Linked DNA regions of Homo sapiens: regions 1, 3, 4 and 5 are each linked to region 2. Evidence: promoter capture Hi-C in 16 types of primary human blood cells and fetal thymus (Javierre and others, 2016). All regions are on one chromosome and are shown on one strand. The core of a region is centred on a gene start or on the middle of the fragment in contact, and the rest is flanking DNA. Distances in the headings are between cores, read along the strand shown. Region 1 has its middle 22 kb from the start of TSC22D2. Region 2 holds the start of SERP1 (stress associated endoplasmic reticulum protein 1). Region 3 has its middle 27 kb from the start of SIAH2. Region 4 overlaps SIAH2 (siah E3 ubiquitin protein ligase 2). Region 5 overlaps ERICH6-AS1 (ERICH6 antisense RNA 1).

Region 1 (2,700 bases), core at 42-2,541, 160 kb before region 2:
TGAACAAGTATCTGTTTCTTCTTCCCTCTCCCGCTCCAGCCCCTCCCCCTTAGTTCTCCAACCCGGGCCTCACTATAGGTCAAAATGAATGCAGCTGCCCAACACTGTGATGCGAGCTCGTTCACACTGACGGACACTTTTCTCATGTTCACGTGGTAGGTCACAGAGCAGTAGGGGAAAGGGAAGTGGTGATGCAGTATCTACTACCTACGCTAGGGGTAGGGGACCAGAAAGTTGCTAGGGGAAAAAAAAATATTCGAACAGTGAAATGGAGCGTGTAACAAAGTGGAGGAGAGTGACTCTTTGAACCGCTATGGTGGCAGGAAGAGCAAATCAGGTGCTGTGTTACAAAAGAACAGGGAAAAAATGTACAAGTGAGATGGTATATATCCAAGTTATTTGAAGACCCTGAAATCCTTCAAATATTAGAGATTATAGCTATGATGCTAAATGCCTTAGGGACTTTCAGAAGAGCTTGTATATTTAAAAGGGGTGCAAAACCTCGAAAATTTATAGGCATCCTAGAAAGTCCCCCAACAGAAACTCTGAAACCTGCATCGAGACTTCCCATTTTACAGTACAAGGAAGGTGGGGGTAGGGGATGGGGTGGTTTCCACCGGGCCCAGCAAAAAAAAGCAGAAAGGTCACCTCCTCCCAATCTGCAAGTATCTGAAATCCCCTCATGGAGGATTGTGACATGAGGCTGAAAGACTCAGAGCACACAGGATGAGACCTCAGGCCAGAGCCAGGTCAGCTCAGCTCGCAAAAGAAGGGTGGGAAGTTCCTACTCTGGTGCTGCTGGCACACCATCCCCCAGAATGGAGGCAGGAGTGGGAGGCAGGCTGCCTGGCAGAACTAGGTGGAGAGGGAAGAAAATGGCCTGAGAATGCTGACTAGATTTGAGTATTTGATGTCTGAAGGGGATTTGGGGTGAGGCAGGGAACAAATGACTTGAAAAGAAAACCACGAAGGCAGATGAAAGACACAAGATAGAAGAGGGGAGGCTAACTATAAGAAAGTGATTGTGGGCAGGTTGAGAGATAGCCATTGGGACAAAAGAAAGTGGTCAGTGAGGGCGAGGAAGGAAGAAATCAGCCTCAGAAGGAGCAGAATTCACACCAGTCTGAAGCCCAAATCTGAAATAGATTCACACATTATTCAAGCCCAAGAGTTGTGGTTTGGGGTGCCCTTATATGGGGCTGGGGGGAGGTGGCAGGAGGGGTTCTTTTTAAATAAATGAACCATAAATGATTCAAAAGATTTTTTTAACTTTTTATTATGAAAAATTGAGCATACAAAAAAGTAAGCAGAATATAATAATGACCTTCATGTACCCAGTACTCTGATCCAACAATTGTCTAATCCTGGTCAATCATGTCATTCAACCACAGCCATTTTCCCGCTTCTCATATTAGTTTTTTTTTTTTTTTTTTTAATTATTGTAGTAATGGCTGGGCACGGTGGCTCACACCTGTAATCCCAGTACTTTGGGAGGCTGAGGCGGGCCGATCACAAGGTCAGGAGTTTGAGACCAGCCTGGCCAACATGGTGAAACCCCATTTCTACCAAAAATACAAAATTATCTGGGTGTGGTTGTGCACACCTGTAATCCCAGTTACTCAGGAGGCTGAGGCAGCAGAATCGCTGGAACCCGGGAGGCAGAGGTTACAGTGAGCTGAGATCATGCCACTGCACTCCAGGCTGGGTGACAAGAGTGAAACTCCATCTCAGAAAAAAAAAAAAAAAAAAGTGACCACAATGTCATTATACCTCAAAAAGTCTTACCATCAGGGGATATTTTGGTGGCATTTCTACATTAAAGCCTCTCTTGTTACTGTACCCAAAAATGCTTGTGCATTTTAGAAGAATTTGGAAAGGTGAGAAGAAATTTTACTAAGAGAAGGGATCAGGAGGTAAAGCTGTATCAGGAACCCTGGGAAGGACAAAGACCTAGCAAGAAAGACTGTTCTAGGCTGGGCACGGTGGCTCACACCTGTAACCCCAACACTTTGGGGGACGAGGCAGGCGGATCACCTGAGGTCAGGAGTTCGAAACCAGCCTGACCAACATAGAGAAACCTCTACTAAAAATACAAAATTAGTTGGGCATGGTGGCGCATGCCTGTAATCCCAGCTACTCGGGAGGCTGAGGCAGGAGAATCACTTGAACCTGGGAGGCAGAGGTTGCTGTGAGCCAAGATTGCGCCATTGTACTCCAGCCTGGGCAACAAGAGCAAAACTCTGTCTCAAAAAAAAAAAAAAAAAAAAAAAAAGATTGTGTTCTGTGGTTGGTCATAGAATACAGCTGTGCAGTGGAGGACATGCGTCTTATAAAACTCCATACTTAGCTCTAGAGAAGTCTGCAGCAATCAGTAGACATCAAAAAGCCAACATTGAAACTGCTCTCATTGAAAGCAGAGAATTAGGGGATCTCTATAGCAGCAAAAATGGTGTTTTCTGTTCTGTCTCCCTTCCCCCAATCTATTGTACTAATATATTATGTGCATCATAAAATATTTAAAAAACGTATCATTAAAGGATGTGATTAAAAAATAAACTTCTTATATTTTTCTCACACTCTAATACATCATCTTGCACCCCTCACTTTGGACACCACAGAGCTTGATTGTCACTGTTACCCCAAGTGTAATCTTTAAGTGGGTGATAGAGAAATCAGGTTTGGCAGGTTGAAAAAGAGCCT
Region 2 (2,700 bases), core at 194-2,693:
AAAATGATAAATGAAGAGAGGAAAGACCTTTTTTTTGTAATCTATTTGCAAAGGCAAGTGTCTGTTACTCTTAGGGGACAGCAGGCTACCCCGACACTTTTTTTTTAAACCATGTATCAAACGTTTCTTTTATTAACCTAAAAACATTTGACTCACACATTAAAATGCCAATCAGGTAATTTCCTCTATAGTGAATCAATTCTTTGCACAAGCTTTATTTTATAAAATATACTCAATTTTGACATTAAGACATTAGATTCTGGTATATGTTAAATCAAGTTCTAACATCTATAGTACATATTTATAATTTTCTTTGCAAAGACTGATAATGGAGTTACAAAACATTCTAAATTCTCATTTCGTTAGGTTTTGTCCGGTCTTAACATTTATTCCAACTGGATCATTACCAAGACCTGACCTCCTTTTTGATCTCCTGTGAGTACAAATTAAGCTGGGAGAAGTTTCTGGAGCACCACCCTCTGTGCATATGTGGAACAAGTAATTTGGTTCAGACGAAACAGAATTATGTGGAGTCCTCGGCAGGTGGGTTGAGAACTACGCAGGTAGGACTCACTACTGACCGGTCACCACGTCATCCCAAATCCTTTCAACCCAAGACTCTACCTGATGGGAGCCCCCAAGCCACTTACCAGAACCACAGACAACAAAAATGAAGAGAGCCAATAACCAGGGTCCTACAGACGCCTTCTCTTCGGGGGCATTTCTCTGCAAAAGCGAAAATCCACCATTTCAGATGCAGAGAAACCACTCGGACCCCAGGCTCCCACGCCTGCACGCCGGTCGCCGGCCCCCTCACCTCACAGGTCTCCCCTTCCGTTCCCGAGCCCCCACAGTCTGGCGGTTCGCAGACTCGGGCCCCTACCCCTCCACGGCACCAGCCCACGGTCGGCCGGATCCGGGAGAAAACGCGACGCGGCCCCAGGGACCCGGACTCAGCTCCGGCTGCGGAACGCAGAGGGGCGCCCGCTCTTTCCTTACCGAGGTCTTGGCGACGTTGCCGCGCTGGGTGATGTTCTTGCTGTGCTTCTCGTTGGCCATACGGATCCTTTGCTTGGCGACCATCTTCGCGGCGCCACCACCTGCCCCGGCCACCCCTCGGACTCGCTCACTCGCCTGCCTCCTCTGGAGCCGCTGCGAGGCTCGGCTCGTGGTGCCCGCGCCGCCGGAGCGCCGAGGTTCTCAGGCCAGACGCTAGCTACGGCCGCTGGGCCTGGGCGCCGCAAGCGCGAGGTCTGAGCACAAGCCGGGCGCCGGCCGCCGACTGACTGACCGAGCGGGGCAGGTGCGCAGGAGGAAGAGAACTGGCCGCCGGGTCGTTCTCGCGCCGCCGTCGCCGCCGCTTTGGCCGCCGCCGTGAGCGCGGAGTGAAAGAGGAAGGAAACGCAACGCAACAACGGGAATGTGCAGCCCGCCGCCTCGATCTACTTTGGGTTCGGCTGCCAACGTCAGCACTAGACGGACTCCGCCCCGCGGAAGTGCGCGCCCCTCCCGCTGGAGAAGGAGGGCGAAAGCAGGCGCACCCTCCCAAGCTCTGTCAAGCGTCGCCCTAGATTTGCGCGTGCGCGTTTGGGCGCCTTTTCCGCGTCACTCCGTAACCGGAAGTGAATTGGCCCCGAGGCTGATGGCTCCGGAAACACCAATTCGCTGTCTCCACGCATGAGGAGACGTGTAGGGGCCGGGTTCGGCCCTGGTGAACTCTCACCCGAGCGGTTTCTCTTTCCGGGACAACATGGCGCCGTCCACGCCGCTCTTGACAGGTGAGTTCTGAAGAAGCGAGGGACTCTCTTTCTTCAGACTAGTTTCTTATTTTTGTCTTTGCCTTTGAGAACTACCCGAGGAGCCGGGGAGTCTGATCTGCCTTTTCTTGTGGCTTGCGGAAAGGCCAGACTGTTGGCTTTCTTGATATAGCGTGGCAATCGGAAGTGAAGTCTCCGCCTCTGGGCTTTCGTATTCCCCCTCCCTTTCACCCATCCATCATTCTTGCCTGCGGATTCATCTTCTACAGAAATAGAAGAAGGGGGAGAAAAACAATGTGCTAGTTGAATTTGTGACACATGGGTCTGCAATACTGGTGTTACACGGGCCCTTGTGAAGTCATTTAGGTCTACAATAAGAACAAAGACAAACATGAGTTAGTCCTCTAGAATGATCACGCACTTTAAATACACCTGGACTTAAGTAATTCCAGATTCTGGCCTTCCTGCCTTAATGAGGTTTGTAGGACTGAATAGGGAGAGTGGAGCTGTAATGCAGGTTTCAAATGATGAAGGTGTGGTTGGGAGAGGGTGTAGCAGTGAGCATGATAGAGATATTCTAGCAACATTTGATTTTGAAATGGTTATGAGCATATTAGAAATAGAACATTAGAGGACTCTTGAAATTTTGAAGCTAAAGACTGTAGTGTTGGAGGAGATAATAAACTTAGATTGGAAAATGCTGGGGAAGTTGCTTTACTAGGGTGTGGCTAAGAGTCTGCATATGAGTATTACGTAAGGAAAAGAGAGTCGGGAAGGAAAAGAAGGTTTTGGTTAAGTTCTGATAACTATATAGAAGGAAAAAGTCATTAAGAGAAAGGTTGTCTGCATTTAAGGAGGGAGGCTATTCCCTCCCTTCCCCCCCGCGAAAGGAACCTTAAAACATTTTTGCACTTTTTGCCAGTCTACATTTCTATTTTTACAT
Region 3 (2,700 bases), core at 50-2,549, 240 kb after region 2:
ACTTCTCCAGAAGTTTTTTGAAGATCTTCCTTAAAATGGGGTTGAGGTGTTATACAACAGCCAAGCTACAGACTGCTTTCAGGTACTGATTGGTTTCTGGCTAAACTGGTATTCCAGATAACAGTTACGGTGATTTTGCTAGAGATTTAGTCCAAAATATGCCTCCATTTTTCTCATAAGAATAGTGTCTGTACAGAGTAAAAACCTAAATTAGCAACTAAAGTTTACTAAGAAATGAGATGAACAACCTTACTAGCATTCAAAATTGCAAATTAAACAACACAAGATACCATTTTTTCCTTATCAAGTGGCAAAAACTAAAAAGATTAATGACATACAGTGCTAATAGAGGGAAAACAGGCCTTCTCATATACTGAAGGTAGGACTGAAAATTATTACTGCTCTTGGGGAGATAGTATAGTAATATTTATTAAAATTTTTAAAAATATTTTTTGCCCCAAATCTCATTTTGAGGAGTATATTTTTCAGATATGAAAGCTGTAGAACATAGAAATACGTAATTGAGATGATTTTTGCACATTTTTTAGTAGCAAAACAAAACAAAATTGAGATACAACTGAACTGTACTTCAATAGGATATATTTTGGTATAAATGTAATTTGGTATATTCATAATTCCAATTTAAATTAGTGTGTAGGAATGAATTAGATCTATATGAATTGTTCTAGAGGATCACCATAGTAAGTTGAATGAAAAAAAAAAAGAAATTGTGGAGTCTTAAACATAGTATGATTCAGTTTTTGTAAGAACAAAAAATTCAAACTCTTTAGGAATATCTGCTTGCATGCGAGCATGGAGAAAGGTATCGAGGGGATACTCACTAGACGTTCCACCCTTGGAGGGTGGAATAAGAGGAAGTAGGGGTGTGTGTGTGTGTGTGTGTGTGTGTGTGCATATGTGTGTGTTATGTGGTGGAAGTATTATGAATTTTTTCTTTAATGCATCTTAAAAAATGCATGTCAATATTTTTAAAATTTTTTAAAAAAGGACAAGGAAACATGGTCCCCAGAAGGTTAAGGCATTTGACCAAAGTCTTAACAACTAGTTAATGTCCCAGCGGGGCTACAATCCAGGTCTGCTGAGCACTGATTCCTTATGTTCATTCTCGGCACTGCTCACTATTGAAAAAAAAGGTAGCTGGCAAAATTCATTACTGCTTCTTCTATTTGATGTTTTCACACTTCCCTTTCCTTTTCTATTGAGTAGCCAAGCTAGGAGAGCAAGAGTTTTTAGTTGTAGCCAGATCCTCTGTGTTCATCCTTAGGCAGACAATTTCCTTTTGACTGGATAAGTTAATTTCCATGACTGAGTTAGCTATTCAATGGCAATCCCCAGAGTTAAAAGGATCGAGGAGGTGACTGAAGAGTTATAAATTTTCTCATTGTCCAGTCAAGATGTTCTCCTTGATCTGATGAATTTTCAGAAGCCAGCATTTTATTTCATTTCCAGTTTGACATAAAAGTTATTGTGTCCTTGGGGTTATAAGAAATACAATATCACCTGTGACCTTCCTTTTATACAGAAAACTCTCCAGAGACCTCAGGGAATTTACGCAGTTTAATTTGGGCTTTGTTCAGCCCTCTTTTAGCTAACATTAGCCTGTAGGACCTTTTCAACAGTTATTATTTAATCCAGGGAGAGACTGTTACCCATCAAATGGAACACATTGCTGAATCCACTTAGTTTTTTTCTTTTTATTCTTGTGGAAATGCTTTTTTCCTGACTTTCTTGACCTCTATCTAGAGTTTGGAAATATATAACTACAAAGTGTGGATCTGAGCCTGAAGGAACTATGAGGTGGTATGGTAGGCAGAATAACACCCGCCCAAAGCTGTCTAAGTCCTAAGTCTCTGAAATTTGTGAATACATTATCTTACTGGCAAAGGAACTTTGCAGATGTGATTTGGTTAAGGGCTTTGAGATAGGGACAGTATTCATTATTGGTGTGAGTTCAATCTAATCACATGGATCTTTAAAAGAAGAAATCCTTTCCCAGTTGTAGTCAGAAGGAGATGTGATTATGAAAGAATGTTCAGAGTTGCAACATTGCCAGCTCTGAAGATGGAGAAAGAGGCCACAAGCTAAGGAATGCAGAGGGCCTTTAGAAGCTGAGAAAGGAAATAAAACAAATCTTTTCCTAGAGCCTCTAGATGGAACACATCTTGATCATAGCACATGTTGCACTTGGAGAGACAGGGGGAGCCAGATGTGCTTCAGTGAGGGGTCTAGCTCTATTTCCCACTCCTCTTTCAGCTTTCCTCTCCTCCACATGGAGCGTCCTCAAGCTGACTTACCCCTATGGTTGCAAGATGATGGGCAGCAGTGACTGGGGCAATAAGTGTTCTTGTTTACATCCACAGGAAGGAAAAGAAAACCTCTCCTCCACCCATGAAATAAGGCATTCCCTGAAGTCTGATTAGGCCAAATTGGATCATACGCCCATCCCTAGACCAGCCCTGGGAATACCAGCTACTGATGGTTTAAGCCTATGTTCCTAAATCAGTTACTATCAGATGGTAGTGATGGGCTGTTCACATGGAGGAGGGGAAAATTGAAAGAAGAGTGGGAAATAGAGCTAGAACCTTCACCACAGCACATCTGGCTCATCCTGCCTCTCTCAAAGACTTATTAGGTAAAATAATGCAGTTCTATATTATTCAAACCAGTTGACTTGGGTTT
Region 4 (2,700 bases), core at 140-2,639, 190 kb after region 2:
GGTATTTTGAGAACCCTTTTTTCTTTAGAATGACTCATGCGTCATAAGACACAGGCTTAATCTACCATCGTTTAATCGCCAGATTACCAAATTAGAATATTGAACTAGGACAGGAAAGATAAAATATTCTTATTTTATTTTTTAAAATATGGTACTTAAGTGGACCACGTGATGAGTTTTGACAAATGCCTATCATTACTTTTCTTTTTTTTTCTCACTTTTTTTAAAAGCAACAAGTCAAGGAATATACTCATCATGTTTTAAATTGCATTTGCAATTGGAACTGCATAAAAAGGCATTTTAATTTACATAATCTTTTTCTGCTGTTTTCACTTCCTGTTAAAACGGAATAACCTGGGGATTTTTATTTTCTGGTAGAAAATGCACAGTTTCAAGAAAGTCAAGAGTAAAGGTTAAGTTTACAGATTTCCAGTGACAGAGATGAAAGGGAACTACGTAACTCTGGAAAATAAAAGTTCAGAGTTGCGTTGCTTACAACTTTTTCATTTGTTAAGTTCTAGGAGCAAGTTTGAATGGGGAATCAAGAAGCCTGAATTATAGAACCAGTGCTGCCAGTAATGCACTGTGTGGCTGCTGGCCCATCACTTTACCTTTTTGGGCTAAAACTCTTTTTGTGCTTTTGGAATAACTTGTGTCCACTTTCTCCTTCTTTATGTCTTTTGTTTATAGGTTTGCGTTTTATGCACTGTTAACCAATCAGTCCTGATTCCTCTACCACACGTAGTAAGAGGGTAAGCCGTGGACATGAAGTGATGCTGCCAAGCTTGGCTAGTGTATGCACACTGCACCTTGCATGGGTGCCGTGAGGGCCCTGGAGGCCATATCTGGACTGGCTCTGGTCCTGAGGGTCAGAGTTCATCTGCTCCTGGATCCTAGTTTCACCTTCATAGGTTCCTCTGTATATGGACTTGAAATGTGACTTTCTTAGTGATAAGAGTTGTGGTTTTTATTCATTCACCACAGATGTTGTAAACCCCTACTTTTGTGTAGGGCACCGTTTTTCACTTTTACAGAAGAGGTTACTTTAGCAATTCTTTAAATGTCAGAGCCCTGTGCTGGCTAAAAACTCAACGCTGTATCTCACTTAAAAAACAAAATCAACTCCAAAGCCATCACCTCCATTTGGTAGTATGCTAATGAAATTGGGACACTGAGGGCTGGGTGTGGTGGCTCATGCCTTAATCCCAGCACTTTGGGAGGCCGAGGCAAGTGGATCACTTGAGGTCAGGAGTTCGAGACCAGTCTGGCCTCATCTCTACTAAAAATACAAAGATTAGCTGGGTGTGGTGGCATAGGCCTCTAGTCCCACTTACTTGGGAGGCTGAGGCAGGAGAATTGTTTGAACCTAGAGGCAGAGATTGCAGTGAGTGCCATTGCACTCCAGCCTCTGTCTCAAAAAAAAAAAAAAAAAAAAAGAAAGAAATTGGGACACTGAGGTAAGCAGCCTTCAATCCTTGCTGAGCATTTGGCCCTAATCCTCTAAATTCTTTTGAGAGTTTAGGGTTGGGACTGAGGGAGTGGGTCAGCTTGGATCAACGCCAGCACTCTGGATGTCAGCAGTGGCCAAGCGTCTTCCTTCTGACTCTGTAAAGCTGGAGCAATCCTCTTATTGCACAGGTACTGGCACTGTCAGATAGAAACGACAGCCCTGGGAGGAGACCTGCAGCACTGACAGTCAGTGGTTCAGACACATGAGCCCGGACCCCAGTGCTGTCATGGACCCGTGCCATGACCTTGGCCCAATGACTGTTTCCACAGTGGAAACAAACAGTGAAAGTTCCAACCCCAGATGTAGTGACGAAGGTTCATTGCACTTGCACACAGTAGATGCTCAATAAATACCCATTACTCAATTAGGGAAATGAAGCACAATATCCATTTTTGGAAAATATTTATTAAAAAACTAGTGAATGTGGCAGAAAAACAAAACCAACACACAGCTTTAAATAGCAAGCATATGACACACCGGTTATAAAGCTTTTCCAACTCTACTGATTTAGTCTTTCACACCAGCTACTGTTGAGGAGGGCTTCCGAGGGAAGCCACGTGTAAACGGGTCATCTGTACTAGTGGTGAGCAAAACTAATTACATGAGAACTATCAATGGCCATATGACTTGCTTTCCTAGGCAATCCACCCAAAACATAGGTGAGTGGCCAAATCTCAGGCGTGCGTTCATGTGGATCTATAGTTCTAGTTTTAATTTGAGGGTTGGGGGAAGTTAGGGGATGAAACAGTAGAAAGACAAACAGTATCGGCAGAGGGCAACCTTAAAGCACCTTTAAAATCTGGACCCTTTCCCACAATTTAACCCAGTAATTCTCAAACATTACTGTTGAAAAGAATCACCTGATGAGACTGTTAAATTGGCAGGCTCCCTAAATCTGCAATTTTAAGATAAGCACTCCGGGTGATTCAGTGTCTATTAGCCAGCCATCCAATTTCAGAAACACTGTTTAAAATGCATTAAAACAATTCCTACCTCCCACAAACAAAAGTAAAGGAATCTGCTGACAGTCACTGTGCTTTTGTCAATGTCAAGGGACCAATATGGGAAGGCAGGCAGGAAGGGGCCTCCCATTCCTAACACACTGATCTATAGAAGCCCTGTGCAACAGCCTGTCAAGTGTTGTTTAGGGAGTAAATACAATTCAATAAGAGTTGTTTTAGATCACAGAA
Region 5 (2,700 bases), core at 133-2,632, 160 kb after region 2:
CTTACTTGTTGGCAGGAGAGAGAGAGTGCAGGGGAAACTGCCACTTTTTCTTTTTTTTTTTTGGAGACAGAGTCTCACTCTGTTGCCCAGGCTGGAGTGCAGTGGCGCAATCTTGGCTCACTGCAAGCTTGGCCTCCCGGGTTCACGTCATTCTCCTGCCTCAGCATCCCGAGTAGCTGGGACTACAGGCGCCCGCCACTACGCCTGGCTAATTTTTTGTATTTTTAGTAGAGACGAGGTTTCACGTGTTAGTCAGGATGGTCTCGATCTTCTGCCCTCAGGTAATCCACCCGCCTTGGCCTCCCAAAGTGCTGGGATTACAGGTGTGAGCCACCATGCCCAGCCAGAAACTGCCACTTTTAAACCATCAGATCTCATTGAGAACTCCCTCACTATCACGAGAACCGCATGAGGGAAACCACCCCCATGATCTGATCACCTCCCACCAGGTCCTGCCCTCAACATGTGGGGATTACAATTCAAGATGAGATTTGGGTCAGGAAACAGAGCCAAACCATATCAAGAGGTAATGGATTTTTAAAAAATTTCCTATCTCAAGTATATAATGTTATGTAATTGTTCCCTATTGTCATCATTTGATATTTTGTTTGCCTTTCTTTAATTTTGTTTTTAATTGGCACATCATAATTGTACATATTCATGGGATACAGTGTGATGTTTCAATATGTGATACATTGTGTGAAAATCAAATCAGGATATTTAGCATATCCATCATCTCTTACATTTATCGTTTGTATTAGTTCCTTCTCACACTGCTAATAAAGACATACTTGAGGCTGGGTAACTTATAAAGGAAAAAGCTTTAATTAGGCCTCAGGAGACTTACAATCATGGCAGAAGGGAAAGCAAACACATTCTTCTTCACATGATGGCAGGAAGGAGAAGTGCCGAGCAAAAGTGGGGAAAGCCCCTTATAAAACCATCGGATCTCGTAAGAACTCACTCACTATCATAAGAACAGCAGCATGGGGGTAATTGCCCCCACGATTCAATTACCTTCTATGGGTTTCTCCCACGACACGGGATTATGGGAACTACAATTCAAGATGAGATTTGGGTGGGGACACAGCCAAACTATATAATCATTTCTTTGTGATGAGAACATTCAAAATTATCTCTTCTAGCTATTTTGAAATATGTAATATTGTTAACCATAGTCAGCCTAGTGTGCAGTAGAATACCAGACTTTATTCCTCCTATCTAACTGTAACTTTGTACTCGTTGACCAATTTCTCTTTATTTTCTCTCCATCCTCCCCTCCGCAGCCTCTGGTAACCACTGTTCTACTCAATACTTCTATGAGGTGAACTTCTTTGGATTCCACATATGATCAAGATCATGAGGTATTTGTCTTTCTATAGCCTGGCTTATTTCACATTACATAATATCCTCCAGGTTCATCCACATTGTTGTATATGACAGGATTTCATTCCTTTTTATGGCTGAATAGTATTCCATTGTATCTATACACGACTTTTTCTTTGTTTGAGACAGATTCTTGCTCTATTGTCTAGGCTAGAGTGCAGTGGTGCAATCATGGCTCACTGCAGCCTCAAACTCCTAGGTTCAAGCGATTCTTCCACCTCAGCCTCCCCAGTAGCTAAGACTACAGGTGTGCACTATCATGCCTGGCTAATTTTTAGTTTTCTGTAGAGACAGAGTCTTGCTATTTTGCACAGGCTGGTCTTGAACTCCTGGCCTCAAGTGAGTCTCCCACCTTGGCCTCCCAAAGTTCTGGCAATACAGCTGTGAGCCACCATACTCTGGCAGATTATTATCATTATTATTATTTAGCTTTTGAGTATTCTGAGTTCCTCATATATTCTGAATATGAACCCCTTGTCAGATGTATGATTTGCAAATATTTTCTCCTGTTCTGCAACTTGTCTCTTCACTCCGTTGATTGTTTCCTTTGCTGTGCGGAAGCTTTTTAGTTTGAAATAATTCTATTTGTCTATTTTTCTTTTTGTTTCTTGTGCTTTTGGGGTCTTATTTTAAAAATCCTTGCTCAGAACAATGTCATGAAGCATTTCCCTTGTGTTTTCTTCCACTAGTTTTATTGTTTCAGGTCTTACACTTAAGTCTTTAATCCATTTTGATTTGATTTTTATATATGGTAAAAGATAGGGATCTAGCTTTATTCTTCTGCATGTGGATATCCAGTTTCCAGCACTATGTATTGATGAGACTGTCTTTTCTCCATTGTGTGTTCTTGGAACCTTTGTCGAAAATCAGTTGGCTCTAAGTATGTGAATTTATTTTTGTGTTCTCCGTTCTGTCCCATTGGTCTGTGTGTCTGGTTTTTTGTCAGTATCATGTTGTTTTAGTTACTACAGCTTTGTAGTATATTTTGAAGTCAGGTAGTGTGATGCCTCCAGCTTTGTTCTTTTTGTTTCCTTTTCTGTTTTCCATTTTTCCTCAAAGACTGCCATGAATACCACCACTTTGAGAAAGGCAGGAAAGTGAATTTTTGTCCGGCTTAAACTTCTTATTTGCATATAGAATATTTTGAATGGGCTATAGATAGCTCCCTAGCACATCCATGAAGAAAGCACAGTATCTCTTCAGAATGCCTTAGTTAAGCATTGTTCTGATTCATGGTGGAAGAACAACTTTAAAGAACTGTAGCCTTGATGATGGCTAATTAAAAATGTTCCTAAAGCTGGGCGCGGTGGCTCA

The links. The method cuts DNA at HindIII sites, captures the fragments that hold promoters and counts their contacts. A CHiCAGO score of 5 or more calls a contact.
Region 1: a contact is called between a fragment that was not itself captured here and the fragment with the promoter of SERP1 in region 2, in 1 of 17 cell types (naive CD4 T cells). The highest score is 5.2, in naive CD4 T cells.
Region 3: a contact is called between a fragment that was not itself captured here and the fragment with the promoter of SERP1 in region 2, in 1 of 17 cell types (activated CD4 T cells). The highest score is 6.1, in activated CD4 T cells.
Region 4: a fragment that was not itself captured here is called in contact with the fragment with the promoter of SERP1 in region 2 in 1 of 17 cell types (activated CD4 T cells); the score reaches 6.9 in activated CD4 T cells.
Region 5: a contact is called between a fragment that was not itself captured here and the fragment with the promoter of SERP1 in region 2, in 5 of 17 cell types (non-activated CD4 T cells, total CD8 T cells, fetal thymus and 2 more). The highest score is 6.8, in non-activated CD4 T cells.

The regions. Positions count from the first base shown.
Region 1 is chr3:150,384,880-150,387,579 of GRCh38, forward strand. No RefSeq gene overlaps it. Among named protein-coding and RNA genes, the nearest start is that of TSC22D2, 22 kb to the right of the region's middle. RefSeq lists enhancers at 372-541, 600-909. The HindIII fragment of the contact is 8,290 bases long and covers 1-2,700 here.
Region 2 is chr3:150,545,053-150,547,752 of GRCh38, forward strand. It overlaps SERP1 (stress associated endoplasmic reticulum protein 1), which reads right to left and starts at 1,444. Exons shown (of 3, transcript NM_014445.4): 1 at 1,000-1,444; 2 at 651-726. The coding sequence starts at 1,083. EIF2A (eukaryotic translation initiation factor 2A) reads left to right here and starts at 1,735. Exons shown (of 14, transcript NM_032025.5): 1 at 1,735-1,778. The coding sequence starts at 1,751. RefSeq lists enhancers at 955-1,585, 1,031-2,230, 1,503-2,042. The HindIII fragment of the contact is 4,802 bases long and covers 211-2,700 here.
Region 3 is chr3:150,788,770-150,791,469 of GRCh38, forward strand. No RefSeq gene overlaps it. Among named protein-coding and RNA genes, the nearest start is that of SIAH2, 27 kb to the left of the region's middle. The HindIII fragment of the contact is 3,952 bases long and covers 1-2,700 here.
Region 4 is chr3:150,739,230-150,741,929 of GRCh38, forward strand. SIAH2 (siah E3 ubiquitin protein ligase 2) reads right to left here. Exons shown (of 2, transcript NM_005067.7): 2 at 1,896-2,700. Among named protein-coding and RNA genes, the nearest start is that of SIAH2-AS1, 21 kb to the right of the region's middle. RefSeq lists a silencer at 1,638-1,717. The HindIII fragment of the contact is 1,214 bases long and covers 783-1,996 here.
Region 5 is chr3:150,706,646-150,709,345 of GRCh38, forward strand. It overlaps ERICH6-AS1 (ERICH6 antisense RNA 1), which reads left to right. Exons shown (of 3, transcript NR_121675.1): 2 at 1,287-1,364. Among named protein-coding and RNA genes, the nearest start is that of ERICH6, 4.1 kb to the left of the region's middle. The HindIII fragment of the contact is 1,126 bases long and covers 820-1,945 here.